Linked DNA regions of Homo sapiens: region 1 is linked to region 2. The links are contacts of gene promoters, found by promoter capture Hi-C in blood cells and fetal thymus (Javierre and others, 2016). All regions are on one chromosome and are shown on one strand. Each heading gives the region's core, a stretch centred on a gene start or on the middle of the fragment in contact. The rest is flanking DNA. Distances are from core to core; before and after follow the strand shown.

Evidence for each region. Contacts are between HindIII fragments. The CHiCAGO score rates a contact against its expected background, and 5 or more counts as called.
Region 1: a fragment that was not itself captured here is called in contact with the fragment with the promoter of LINC01801 in region 2 in 3 of 17 cell types (total CD4 T cells, naive CD8 T cells and naive CD4 T cells); the score reaches 5.6 in total CD4 T cells.

The regions. Positions count from the first base shown.
Region 1 is chr19:34,944,331-34,951,819 of GRCh38, reverse strand. ZNF30 (zinc finger protein 30) reads right to left here. Exons shown (of 5, transcript NM_194325.3): 5 at 6,652-7,489. The coding sequence ends at 6,982. Among named protein-coding and RNA genes, the nearest start is that of ZNF792, 16 kb to the left of the region's middle. The HindIII fragment of the contact is 4,924 bases long and covers 3,194-7,489 here.
Region 2 is chr19:34,826,391-34,834,146 of GRCh38, reverse strand. It overlaps LINC01801 (long intergenic non-protein coding RNA 1801), which reads left to right and starts at 1,278. Exons shown (of 6, transcript NR_033982.1): 1 at 1,278-1,422; 2 at 1,611-1,817; 3 at 3,621-3,741; 4 at 4,894-4,983. The HindIII fragment of the contact is 2,823 bases long and covers 951-3,773 here.

The DNA of each region.
Region 1 (7,489 bases), core at 4,406-6,905, 110 kb before region 2:
TCTTCTGTTTTAATATAATCTTTATAGCTATAAATTTCCTACTTAGGCACTGCTTTTGTTGTATCCTACAAGTTTTTGTATATTGTTTTCCTTTTCTTTCATCTCTATTTTATAATTTCCTTTGTGATTTCTTTGATATAATGATTATTTAAGAGTGTCATTTGCTCTCTGCAAATTTGTGAATTTTCAAGTTTTCCTAACCTCTTGTGATCAGGGAAGATATTTTATATGATATATATCTTTTAAAATCTATTGACCCTTAATTTATGGCCTGACATGGTCTATTTTGGAGAATATCCCATGTGCAAGTGTATTCTATTGTTATCGTGTATTCTATATATTTTCTGTTAGATCTAATTGGCTTATTGTATTGTTCAAGTGCTCTATTTCCTTATTGGTCTTCTGATTGTTTTATTTATTATTGAGAATGGGTTATTGAAGTCTCTAACTATTGTTGTAGAACTGTCTATTTCTTCTGTTAATTCTGTGTATTTTTCCTTCATATATTCTGATGGTCTGTTATTAGGTATATAAATGCTTATAATTGTTATATGTCCTTGCTGTCTTGAATCTTTTCTTAATATGTAACGTCTCTCTTTGTCTCATGGAACCACATTTTGATTTAAGGTCTATTTTGTTTGATACCAGTATGTCCATCCCTGCTTTCTTTTGGTTACTATTTGCATGGAATATCTTTTTCCATTCTTTTACTTTCAATCTATTTCTGTCTTTGGATCTAAAGTGAAACTTTGTAGACAGCATATAGTTGGATTATCGGTGTTTTTTTTGTTGTTGTTGTTTGTTTTTTAACTCATTTTGCCAGTTTCTGTGTTTTGCTCTGAGGATTTAATCCAGTTATATTTAAAGTAATTACTGATAAGGAGGGACTTACTTCTGTCATTCTGCTATTTATTTTCTATGTGATTTTAGCTTTTTTGTCCCTTATTTCCTATATTACTCTCTTTTTGTGTGTTTGATTTTTCAAATGTGAAACATTTTAATTTCATTCTTGTTTCATTTTGTGTATATTCCATAACTATTTTCTTTGTGGTTACCATGGAGATTACATTTCACATCCTAGATTTGTAATACTCTGATTTGAACTTTTACCAGCTTACCGTTAATAACACAGAAAAACTCTGATCTTATACAACTCCATCCCCAACACTTGTAGATAGTAATGTCACAAAATTACCTCTTTATACATTGTGTGTCCAAAAACATAGATTAATAATTTTTTAACACATTCGTCTCTTAAATCACATAAAAAACAAAAAGTGGAGTACAAACCAAAGTTACAATAATATGAACTTTAAAATTTTCCCAGGTATTTGCCTTTACTAGAGATCCTTATTTCTTCTCATGGCACTGAGTTACTGTCCAGTGTCCTTTCATTTCAACTGGAAGGACTCCCTTTAGCATTTCTTGCACAGCAGTTCTCTTGGTAACGCATTCCCTCAATTGGGAATGTCTTCATTTCTCCCTCAGTTTTGGTGGATAGTTTTGCCAGATTTAGGAGTCTTGGTTGTCCGTTCTTTTCTTTTAGCACTTTGAACATGTCAGCCCACTGCCTTCTGCCTTCTGTCTTCTGCCCTCTAAGGTTTCTGATGAGAAATCTGATAATCTTAGTGAGTATCCCTTGAATGTAATGAGTCACTTCTTTTTTGCTGCTTTCAGTATTCTCTTTATGTCTCTGTCTTTTGACAGTTTGATTATAATGTGCCTCAGCGTGAGTCTCTTTGAATTCATCCTTCTTGGAGCTCATTGAGCTTCTTGGGTGTTTATATTTATGTCTTTTTACATCTGTATAGTGTGTTAAAATAAAAAAAAAGTCTTTCATCAAATTTGGGTAGTTTTGGCCATTTCTTAAAAATAGTCCCTCTTCCTCCTTGTTTCTCTCTTTCCTCTGGAACTCCCACCTTTTCTTCTATTAGCTGCATGTTGGTTTTTGTCTGTTACAAATTGAGCTACTGTAATCATTAGTGTGTAGGTCTTTGTGTGGGAATATTCTTTCTCTTCTCTTGTGTTATTATCTAAAAGTGCAATGCCTTTGTTGCAGGGTAGGTGAATATTTTACATTTTAAGAAACTGCCAAATTGTGTTCTAAAGTTATTATACCATTTTACATCCCCTGCCTCCCTGATTGTGAGCAAGAGTTCCAGTTTCGTCACATAATCACCAACAATTGCTATGATCTGTGTTTTTAATGTTTATAATGCTACTAGGGATGGAGTAATAGTATCTTATTGTAGTTTTAACTTGCATTTCTCTAAGGCTTCATGATTTTGAGCATATTTTAAATCATGTTTTTATTTGCCACCCATATAACTTCTATGGTAAAATGTCTACTGATATCTCTTGCCTATTTTAAAAGTAAATATTAGTTGATATTGAAATAGTAAAGAAATTTTTTGGAACTGCAGTCATTTATTAATAATGCCAGTGACTTATTTGTTTTGTAGGGTAATTTTGAATATTGGAAGAATATTTCCTCAAAATTTTGTGCTGTTCACAATGGGAAACTAGAGACATGAAACACTTTTAAGTTTAATCTGAATTATTAACATATTCTCTGCTTTCTTAAGTCTACCTGGTCAATAAAACAACAGATCAAGTTCTGGTTTGTAGTGTTTACCAATACCCTAGGTGTAAATACTTCTGTCTTGGCCAATTTCAAGCTACAACATGATGTCTCTGAATATGGAGTTGGGAAGATATGTGCAATAGCACGCCATTGTATTCTGTTTCCACTGAATAGATGCAATAAACGTAAATAACCTCTAAAGCATAGATAATAGTAAAATAATTAGGAAATGAGGATTTTTTTAAGTATTTTTTTTTCTTTTTAGAAAAACAGCTTTATTGAAGTCTAAACTACACATATTTCACAGGTACAAGTTTTGGTACATGTTTATAGCCATGAAATTAAAGGTTTTCTTGGGCTCTTTGTAATCTCTTCCTCCTTATCCACCTACCCGTCTTTAGGAAACCACTGATCTGCTTTCTGTCACTCTACATTTGTTTACATATTTTAGAATATTACATTAATCTGGAAGCAGCTTAGGTAGGTCAAGGTTGAGAATCCCCCATGAAATTGCAGTTAAGCTGTCTCTGGAGCTACAGTCTCAGGAAACTTGCTGGAGGCTGGAAGATTCAATTCTAATCTCTTTTCCATGGCAGTTGACAGGAAGCTTTAGTTCCTTGCCACATGGATCTCTCCATAGGGATGCTCGTCACAGGGATTCTTTCAAACAGAGAAAGTGATCCAAGAGCAGGAGAGTCTACCCAAGAAGGAGACCAGTGTCTTCAATAACCTAAAATTGGAAGTTACATGTTCTCATGTTTTCTGTTTTATACGGGCTTTACAGATCAACCCTTGTAAAATGTGTGAGGGGTACCCAAGGGTAAGAATTCCAGGAAGTAGAGATTTGGGGTTCTTTTTAGAGTTTACCTGCTACAATCACGTTTTACCTTGTTTTAAAGTCTTTTTTTTTTTTTTTTTTTTTTTTTTTTTTTTTTTTTTGAGACAGAGTTTCAGTCTTGTTGCCCAGGCTGGAGTGCAACGGCACGGTCTTGGCTCACCGCAACCTCCGCCTCCCAGGTTCAAGTGATTCTCCTGCCTCAGCCTCCTGAGTAGCTGGGATTACAGGCATCCGCCACCACGCCTGGCTAATTTTGTATTTTTAGTAGAGATGGGGTTTCTCCATGTTAGTCAGGCTGGTCTCAAACTCCCGACCTCAAGTGATCCGCTTGCCTCAGCCTCCCAAAGTGCTGGGATTACAGGCGTGAGCCACTGGGGCACCTGGCCTTAAAGTCTTTTAATGGTAAATTGCATTGATTTTCAAATATCAAGTGAACTTTTATATTTTGAGGGTAAATCTACATTTTCTTGATGTGTTATCCTTTTTTTGTATTGTTGGGTTTGATTTGCCAAAATTTTGTTGAAGTTTCTATACCTATGTTCATGAAGGATATTGATCTGCGGTTTTCTTGTAATGCCTTTGTGTGGTTTTGGTATCACTATAATAGCTTCACCAATTAAGTTGGAAAGCATTCCTTATGCTTCCACTTTTTTGGAAGAGTTTCTGCATTCTTAGGTTTTCTTCCCTAAATGTTTGGTAGAATATACCACTGAAGCCATTTAAGCCACAGTTTGCTTTGTAGGAAGGTTTCTAATTACAAATCTGATTTTAAAAATAAATATAGGGATATACATTTTTATTTTTCTTAAGTGAACTTTAGTGGTTTGTGTCTTCAAAGAGAGTTTGTTCATTTTATTTTATTTCCCAGATTTATTGGCATAAATGGGTTCATGATTTTCCTTTCAATATCTGTAGAATCTGTCATGTCTCTCATTCCCAATCTGGGTAATTTATGTGCTTCTTTGTAACTTGATAATCCTTGGCTAGAGGTTTATCAGTTGTATTGTTCTTAAGGCTTTTGGTTTCACTGATTTTCTTCACAGTTCATTCTGTTTATTTCATTGACTTCCATTTTAATCTTTATTATATACTCTCTTCTGCTCATTTTGCATTTCTCTTCGTTAGTTTTTTAATGTGGAAACTGATACTCTTATTTTTGGATATTTTTTCTTTTGTTTAATGGGTTTACCTAGGGTAAACCTAGCCTTCAGTTCTGACAATTTTCTCCTGTATTTTCTTCTGAACATTTTGTACTTTTATATTTTATATTTTAGTCTGTGATCCATTTTGAGTGAATTTGTGTTTAAAGTATGGGATTAAGTTGATGTTCACATCTTTTGTCTATGGACGTTCAATTGCTCCAGCATTATTTGCTGAAAAGCCTTATCTGCCTTCATTTATTTGCTTTTACTTGTTTTTCAAAAATCAGTTGGTTATATTTCTTTGCACGTTTCTGGGTTATCTATTCTGTTCTTTAGACCTATGTTGTTTATCCCTCCCCAGTACCACAGTGTCTTGTATCCTTAGCTATATAATAACCCATAACATCAGACAGGGTGATTCCCCCCAGCAGTCTTTAAAATGTGTCCACATTGACATCGACAGACACATTTGTTAGCGCCCTAAGAGATCCCTTCACTGTCAAGGCTTTGGCAACCTCTTCTCATGTGTCCTTGAGTCTCTAGACCACCTCTGATGGCCAGAAGTTTCCCAAGGGCTTCTGATACAAGAAACTGCCCTTCTCAAAATCATGCTATGCCTCCATTAAAACAAACTGACTAGCTACATACTAGGCTCTTCTAGAAATAGAGACTTTCACAGACCTAATACTTAGCTGCCCATTTGTTTTGAGTCAAGAAACAGCAACCTACAAACTTGGCATGGCTACCGAGGCCTCCTTAATACAGGATAGAGCCAAATCTGGGCCCTCTGGCGTATTCCATCTACAGGAGAGGTGGTCTCCTTTGTCCTCAGTCTCTTGCCACATGCCATGGTACTGGAAGAAGTCACCCCCTCTCCTAGACTGGTTGGCTACCTGGGGAGACCCTTGGGATTAACTAAGTAAACAGCAATAGCAGTTTGCAGACTGTATGAACGACACTGCCAACCATCATAAATATTGATTTTTTGTGTGTTGTTTTTTAAATTAGTGGAATCTTGCTACTTTGCATCTTAGACAGGATGTCCCCAGCAGTCAACACAATTGGCCAAACTTCAGGCAGTCATCTTAGCACTGGATGACCTGGTCAACAAATGGCCTCATCTTCACATTTATTGCAAACTATTGGGCCATTGCCTAAGAGTTGTGCACTTCAGAGTAAAAACTCTAGCAATCTCCTACCTTACAGATACCTAAAATATAAACGTAAATCACACATGTCTCTAGATATACTATGGCCACAATACAAGGCCAAATAACTCCTTATTTCCTTCAGTGTTAGATATTACTGATAATAACAAAGGCATACATTTCCCTTCCCAGAATACACAATTCTGGGTTCTCGGTAAAGCTATCCAATGGAACTCTCATGTCCCTGATAGGTGCCAGATAGCCAATTTATTCTATTTTACTTGTTATTTTTTTGTGGAGACAGAGTCTCTTTACATTGCCCAGGCTGATCTCGAGCTCCTGGGCTCAAGTGAACCTCCCACCTCAGCCTCCCGACCTCCCATTTGAACTGTGCCCAGCTCAGATGCCCAGTTTAATTGAGGTCTCAATTTTTCTCTTTTTCTTTGAGACAGAGTCTAGCTCTGTCACCAGGCTGAAGTGCAGTGGCATGATCTTGGCTCACTGCAAGCTCCACCTCCCAGGTTTATGCCTTTCTCCTGTCTCAGCCTCCTGAGTAGCTGGGACTACAGGTGCCCGCCACCACACCCAGCTATTTTTTTTTGTATTTTTAGTGGAGATGGGGGTTTCACCGTGTTAGCCAGGATGGTCTTGATCTCCTGACCTCGTGATCCGCCTGCCTCAGCCTCCCAAAGTGCTGGGATTACAGGCTTCAGCCACCAAGCCTGGCTTTTTTTTTTTTTTTTTAATAAGAATGTAGGTTCTATTATCACCATTTTAAAACAATGCTGTAAGGTGATAAGTGTAGTGCCTAATATCTAACTGGCTGCAAGGCAGTGGAATAACAATGATGATAGTTAACGTGAGTGCCATGGCTAAAGGCTTTCATTACATTGTTAACTGGTTTTAAAAAATAATGAATTATTTGAAGTTCAGCAGTGGTTTAGGAGGTCCAAGGTTTTTTATTCACTTGTTCATACAATCACATTAGAATAAATGCATCATATAAAAGTTCATGCTGTCAGTGCTGTAACCATTAAGTAATAACGTTTCCCACTTTTTCTGAATGGTCCACCAGTATAAATATTGGTATTACAAACCTATAAATGACAAAGGAATATTCTTATGTTTTCTGAGTTATATTATGAATTATAAGATGAGAATAGACCTGCCAATATTCTTCACATTTGAAAGTTTCCTACCAGCATAAATTCCCCGATGTTCAACAATGTTTGAGCCACACACGAAGCACTTCCCACACTCCTCAGACTCTTAGGGTATAACACTCATATGTTTTCTCAGATGCACTTTAAGGGCTGAACTGTATCTAAAGGTCTTCCCACATTTTTTGCATTTAAAGGGTTTCTCACCAGTGTGTACCCGCTGATGTTCAGTAAGGAATGAATTAAGTCTAAAGGCCTTCCCGCATTCCTTACATTCAAAAGGTTTCTCACCAGTGTGAACACTCTGATGTCCAATAAGTTGTCCATAAACAGTAAAGGCTTTCCCACATTTGTTACATTCATAGGGTTTCTCCCCAGTATGAATTCTTTGATGCTGAACAAGGTATGAGCCAGAACTGAAGGCCTTGCCACACTCCTTACACTCATAGGGCTTCTTACCAGTATGGATTCTGCTATGTTGTACAAGGTACGAGGCTCGACTAAAAGTCTTTCCACATTCCTTACATTCATAGGGCTTTACATCAGTATGAATTTTCCGATGCTGTGTGAGATGTACGTGCACTCTGAAGGCCTTGCCACATTCCTTACACTCATAG
Region 2 (7,756 bases), core at 29-2,528:
AATGTTAAAAATTTGGGAGGGGCATAGTGACTAGGAATGAGCATGAGGTTGATTCTGAGGTGCCTGTGTTTTGCTTCTTGATCTAGATTACATAGGTTTGTTCATTCTGCAAAAATGTATTGAGGAATAGACAGATGATTTGTACACTTCTGTGTATGAATGTTATATTGTAAAGTTTCTTGAAGAATACCTGTTTACAAGAGTTAGAGAACATGGAAGCTCTTTCTCTGAGATAAAACATCTAAAAAGACAAAAATTAGCCGGGCGTGGTGGTGGGTGCCTGTAATCCCAGCTACTCGGGAGGCTGAGGCAGGAGAATGTCTTGAACCCGGGAGACAGAGGTTCTAGTGAACCAAGATCACACCACTGCACTCCAGCCTGGATGACAGAGGAAGACTCTGAGACTCCGTCACAAAAAAGAAAAAACAAACAAACAAACAAACAAAAAAGCCCTAAGTCATATCATGCCAGTCTCAGCAGTTTGAAACCCTCCATGGTTCCCATCTCTCAGTAAAAGGCAACGTTCTTATGACATCCTTCAAGGCCCCATGTAGTCTTTTGGTCCCTCTCCATCTCTGTCCTCCTGTCATCCACGTCTCCCACGTGCTGATTGGGTCTGGTAGGGTGACTGGGTGGCAAAGACCTCACAGAGGTGCCTTTCTGCTCAGGTGGCAAACAGGAGAGTCTATCTGGGCCCTGCAGGATGGATCCTTCCTGAGTCACTGAATATATTGGAGGTGCAGACAGCGCCAGAGAAAGGCATTGAGCCTGCCAGATCAGACACCGCCTCTTAGGGTCGACGGAACACCCAGGAGCAAAGACCAGAAATTGTGGGAGAAAGGCCTGGAAGGGGGCCGGGGAGAGGCACAGAGACAGCGAGGTGATGCAGGCTTGGTGGGAGCGGGTATGGTAGGCAATGGGGGACAGAGGGGCAGGGCACAGACAAAGCTTGCTGAAGATATGAAGAGCAATTGTGAGCCGGCGAATCCTTGGAGTAGAGGAGAAAATTGAGGTCTCCTGTTCAGCCCGATGCAGGTGAGATGCTGTTGGAACACGTGACAGAGAAAGGGTGTGTGAGCCCAGGGCTTGTGCACTAAGCGCACAGGAGCGAAGGGGGCGAGAAGAAAAAACGACGCCCAGCAAAGAGCGTCAAGGCCCAACCGCCTGCCCCCAACCGGTCTCTAGCGCCTCGTGACCTTCTGCACTCCGTTGCAGGCGTTTGGCACCAGATGGTCCCACGCGCTCTGTTCGACGGTTGGGGGCCGCGGACGCTGGTTGTCAGCAGCACTGGGTCAGCCGGTGAACGGGTGTGCAGCGTCCTCAGCGCCGCAGCAGTCAGCACCTGTGGGTGCTCTAGCTCTTTCCCTCGGGGTCACCGGAGGCAGAGCCTCCCCTACGCGGAGTAGAGGAGCAGCTCACATGGTGCGGGGGTGGGGATCGGGCTTCCTGGAAGGCTGGAAATGGGAGTTGGGATAAGGGGTTGGCGAGGGCGGGGCGGCACCGTCTACCGGGGTGACCGGTGTGCCCTGGCAGCCAGGGAGTCTGCTGCAGGGCAGGTATTAAGATTCGGAGAGACATAGGACAAAGAACCCTCGGCCTCTTCTTTTCAGGCAGCCGCCACAGAGGACACCAGATCATGCCAACACCCCCACAACTCCTGCCCGCCTGCAGGCAGCTCTGGGCTCAGGACACCGCCTGCAAGAACCTTTATAGCGCAGCTCTCCAAACCTTGGAGGCGAGGACATTCTATGTGCCCGCCCTGGAAAGGCCTGAACCTATAACATCTGGGCTGTGATGGTTTCTGAGGTGGACACCAGGTATTCTAAACTGCCCACATGCTTCACCCCAAAACTTCCCTTTCTAACAGGCAGTGTATTTTCACTTCTTTTAAAATATTTGGTAAAACAGCATTTAAGCCTTAGAAAGTTCCCCATCTCACCCCAGCCAGGGTTTGAACCCATGCTGTCTGATTCCACAGATCATGCATTTAACCACCAGACTTTGGTGTAGCCTCACCGTGTGTGCATAATGGATTACACTTGTTTATAATACTTGGGGTGCTTAGCACCATGTCAGAGCTGTAATGAGTACTTGCACTGTTAGGAGGTCTAACATGGTTCAATTTATAAGTGGACCATTGGCCACACCGGGTCTGGCTCAGTCTCCTGGGAGGATGTAGGCAGGGACCACCAATTATCAGCATATCTCCATGATGAATTTCTCCAGACAGCGTATCACTCTGTCACACAGGCTGGAGTCACAGCTCACTGCAACCTCGAACTCCTGGGCTCAAGAGATCCTCCCACCTCAGCTTCCCAAGTAGCTGAGACTGCAGGCATGCGCCACCACGCCTGATAATTTCTCTTCTAATTGAGCTTTGCAGAAAGCCACACAGCTGTCTGAGAGCTATTTTCTCCCAGGTATAGGGACAGGAAATGGCACCTCAGACTTCTGCAGATTCCACCCTGGCTTAAAAGCCCATGCCCCCAAGGACACCAATCTTTCTTACAATAACATAGACTATCTTTCAGGGTCCTGGCCAAGATGGACAACTTGCCAATATTAACTTTTCCAGGCCACAGGGATGATATATATCTCCATAGATTTAGGTCTTGAGTATTTTCTCCTAGAAATATTTCGCAGCAAGGGTCAGCACTGCAGCCTATGGGCCAACAAATTTAGCCTGTAGCCTACATGTAAGGCCAGTGAGTGAAGGATCCTATTAACAATTTTAAAGAGTTGCAGCAGAATACACAGAAACACAAAGAGTCTGTGTCACAGACAACGTGACCCACAAAGGCTATGCTACTTATTAGGCTGGTGCAAAAGTAATTGTGGTTTTTGCCATTACTTTCAAACCGCAATTACTTTTGTACCAACCTCATACTATCTGGCTTTTTAAGAGAAAATTTGCAACTGTTTTGCAGTTGTCTGTGCATAGATCTTCCACAGCTTTTGCTAATTTATTTCTAAGTATTCTATGGGGTTTGTAAATGCTATTGTAAATGGAATCTTTTAAATTTTAATTTTTGATAGTTCATTGGTAGAATATAGGTAATACATATAATACAGTCCAGTGTCGCTTTAACAATGGGAATACCTTCTGAGAAATGCATCATTAGGTGATTTTCGTCATTGTGCAAACATCATAGACTGTACCTACACAAACCTAGATGGTATAATTGACTATACTCCTAGGCCATATGGTATAGCCTGTAGCTACAAACCTGTACGGCATATACTGAATTTGAGGCAATTGTAACACAACGTTAAGTCTTTGTGTATCTAAATATATCTAAACACAGAAAAGAAACAGTAACAATGTCATATTATCTTATGGGAACACTGTCGTATATGCAGTTCATTGTTGACCAAAACCTTGTTATGAGGTGCATGACTGTGTATGTACATAAATGTATATATGCATACATATTGAGTTTGTATATTGAACCTCACTGAAATCGCTTTTGATTTCAGGTAGTTTCTTTGCAGATTCCATAGGATTTTCTACATACACAATAATGTTTCTAGGAATCATGTTTCTGTGAATAAAGCTAGTTTTCCTTCTGTTGTAATCTACATGCTTTTTATTTCTCTTTATTTCCTTCTGTATTTGCCAGGACCAACACTTGTCAGCATGGCACAATCAGGCATTTCTCTTCTAAGTAGGATGTGCAGCCAAAAACTCAGCTGTCTGTGAGCTGTCTTCTCCCAGGAACGAGGACATAAGATGTACATCAGGTAGATACAAGATCCATGCTAGCTTAAAAGCTTTATGCCCCAAGGGCACCAATATCACTTGCAATAATTCCATAGGCCAGCTGTCAGGGCCCTGGGTGAGATTGATAATTGACCAATATCAACTTCCCTAGCCCCTGAAAATGATGATGATGATGGGGTGTGTGTGTGTGTGTGTGTGTGTGTGTGTGTGTGTGTGTGTGTGTACTCACGTACTATATACATATATTGGCATATAGTAGTATATGGACAAAACAACTGCTTTTGATATATTTACTTTTGTATTGAAACCTTGCTCATTTTCTATTTACATTTTGTAGTTTCTTTGTAGATTCTTTAGTGTTTTTTTTTTTTTAGTCTTGCTGTATCCCCCCTAGGCTGGAGTACAGTGGTGCAATCTCAGCTCCCTGCATCCTCTGCCTCCTGGGTTCAAGCGATTCTCTTGCCTCAGCCTCCTGAGTAGCTGGGATTATAGGCATGTGCCACCATGCCCAGCTAATTTTTGTTTTTTTAGTAGAGACCAGGTTTCACCATATTGGCCAGGCTGGTCTTGAACTCCTGACCTCAGGTGATCTGCCCACCTCGGCCTGCCAAAGTGCTGTGATTACAAGTGTGAACCACTGTGCCCAGCCCTCTTTCAGATGTTCTACATAGACAAACGTTTTCTGTGCTTAAAGGCACTTTTCTTTCTTCTCTTTTAATCTCTATGCCTTTTATTAATTTTTCTTATCTTCTACATTTGCTGCAACATCCAGGAAACTATCAAATACAAGAAGAGACAATGGATATTCTTTCCCAGTTCCTAATCATAGGTTAAGAGTATTCAGTATGGTATTAACTGAAGATTTTTTGTAGATATGCTTTATCACAGAAATGAATTCTCTCGAATTCCTGCTTTACTTAGAATGTTTTTGGTAAGTGGTGTGAGACCCACAGCTATTGAGATCACCATAGGACATTTCTCTTTTATTCTCTTAATATGATGAATTACATTGATTGATTTTTAGGTGTTAAATGAATCTTTGCCTTCCTGGGGAAAAACTTACTTAGTCACAAAAGATCATCTTTTTATATTTGGTTTTCCTAAAGTGTTGCCAAAGACTTTTGTGTCTATGTTATGAGCGATATTAATCTGTAATTTTCTCTTCTTGTTAGGTTTTGATATTAGAGTAATACTGGCCTTATAGAATGAGTTACGAAAAGTTGCCCCTTTCTCCACTTTCTGAAAGAGTTTGTGTAACACAGGTAAAATATTGTTCTTACACATTTGATAGAATTCACCTGAAAAACCGTCTGGAACTGCATATTTTTTCTTAGAGGATGTTTATAATTCCCCATTACCCTTTTAATGTCTTTCAGATCTGACTCATGCCCTTCCCTTTTTATTCCTAATATTGGTAATTTGAGTTTTCTCTTTGTTATTTCTTCTTCAATCTTGATAGAGGTTTCTCCATTTTATTACACTTTATAATTTCTATATTATATATAGAAATGTCTATAAATAGAAATTAATAGAATTAATGTGTCTCTATCATTTCTATTTCCGTGTCTATTTTTATTATTTCTTCTTTTCCATTCATTTTATATTTAATTTATTCCTTGATTCTTCTACTCAGGGTAGAAACCTAAATCATTGTTTCTTAAAATGTTTCTGTTTTAAACATAAACGCTTAAAGCTGCCACACTTTAGCTGTCTATCACAAATTTTGATTTGCTGTGTTTTGCTTATTCAGTCCAAAATATTTTATATTTTTCCTTGTTATTTTTTAATATATTGATTATATAAAAGTGTGTCTTGCTTTCATTCTAAATATGAATATGAGTATTTTAAATATTTAACTATTTAAATTTAATATTTATTATAGTATTTATTTATTTAATATTTAATCTGTAAATTTTAGGATTTTGTAGATATCATATTGTAGATATCTACAATTTTGTAGATAGATCTACAAAAATTCTATTGTGATCAGAGAAAACATATTAATCTCAAAATTATTAAGATTTATTTTTTGGCCCAATCTTAATGAACATTCCATGTGCTCTTGAAAAGAAACATGTGTTCAGCTGGTGTTGGGTTATATGTTTTACAAATACCAATAAAGTCAAGTTACAACTTCTGTAATCTTACTTTTTATTAAATTAACAAACTTTATTTTAGAACAGTATTAGTTTCACAGAAAAATTGAGGAGAAAGTGCAGTGTGTTCTCGTGTATCTTCTCCACCCGTACGTACACAGTTTATCCTGTTACTAACAACTTGGATTCATGTGGTACATTTGTTACAATTAATGATCCAATATTAATATATTAACTAAAGTCTATAGTACACATTATGGTTAACTCTACCTGTCATACAGTTCTGTGGTTTTTGACAATTGCATAATGTCATGTACCCATACTGTAGCATCATACAGAATAGTTTCACTACCCCAAAAATCTCCTGTGCTCCATGTAATCCCTTCCTCCCCCAAACTCCTAGCAACCACTGATCTTTTTACTGTCTCTAGTTTTGCCTTTCCAAATGTCGTATAGTTGGAATCATACAGTATTTAACCTATTCAGACAGGCTTCTTTCACTTTGCAGCATGAATTTAATGTTCTTCCATCTCTTTTCATGGTTCAACAGCTCATTTCTTCATATTGCTGAATAATATTCCATTGCATAGATATACCACAGTTGGTTTATCTATTCACTTTTTGAAGGACATTTTGGTTGCTTCTAATTTGGGGCAATTATGATTAAAACCGCTACAAACATTCATGTGCAAGGTGTTTGTTGTTGTTGTTATTTTTGTTTGTTTCATTTTGGAGTATTTACTATCTCTGAAAATTAATATAATGGGGGTGCTAATGCTAATTTTTTAAAATCAAGGTTAGCTCAAGTAGTTCTCCTTATATGTAAACTAGTACCATTCACTCATTAGGATAGCTACATAACTGCAAAATAATTCAAATTACACAGCAACACCCCTTAAAGATTCATCATATACTTAGATGATATGATTCGCACCACTTCCTGGTGGAGGCATTCAAATTATTCACAAGAAAGAGAATGCAATCTTACAAAGTTGATGGCATAGAACCTAAGAAACTTTTTCCATAATTAAGCAGTAATTCACAATACACATATCTCTGAGGCATTTGTTGTTACAATAGATGGGCTTGTTCCTCTCTTTAATTACAAAGAGAATGAGGCCCAAATAAAAAGTATCCTACATTTTTAATGACTGAAAATACAACTCAATACATATTCATATTCACTGGAGCTATAAAGCATAATCACTCTCAGAAAATTCTATAATAAAATTCACATTCATTTCTCCTCCTACTGATCTTACATGTATTAGCATACTAACTAAGCAGAGTGTGGTCACTCCACATTTCCGGAGCTCCTCTAAGCCAATTTCTGGAGCTACTCTAAGATATGGTTGGATTTTCTGAGAATGAAATGTTTTACACTCTATGAGGAACCCAACCAAAGAAGTTGACTAAGATCCTCTTCCCTTTTTCCAAGGGCTTTGATTTCTGATGTTTGCCTCCATATTGGTTAACTGTAGCACCATGGAAAACACAATACATGTATTCTTGTAATAACATTACAGAATTTTATCAAGAATCTCTGGAAAAGAGATAATTATGCTGTGTTTATACTGTCAAAATAACTTTAATAATGTACAAGTCAGTAATTTTATTTTTAAACAGGAAATCTGACTGAATTAAATACAGGTAAAACTTATAGGTGCTCATATCTCATAGATAAGCCAAATAAGATATCCCAAAAATGTTGTCTTAAAACTTATTAACTATAAAGGTTAGGTTCAACAATTGTTTATAAAGGACTGCAGTGGACCCTTTAAATTGAACTTCAGTGATTTGTTCGTATGTACAAGAACATCAAAATCCAGGGTATCATTTCATGAGAGCATGTCTAGAAACTCATCTTACTAAGAATGCAGGAGACTCTGAAAAGGTTGTCTTGTGATGCTTGAAACATATTCATGCTGATTTATGCTGG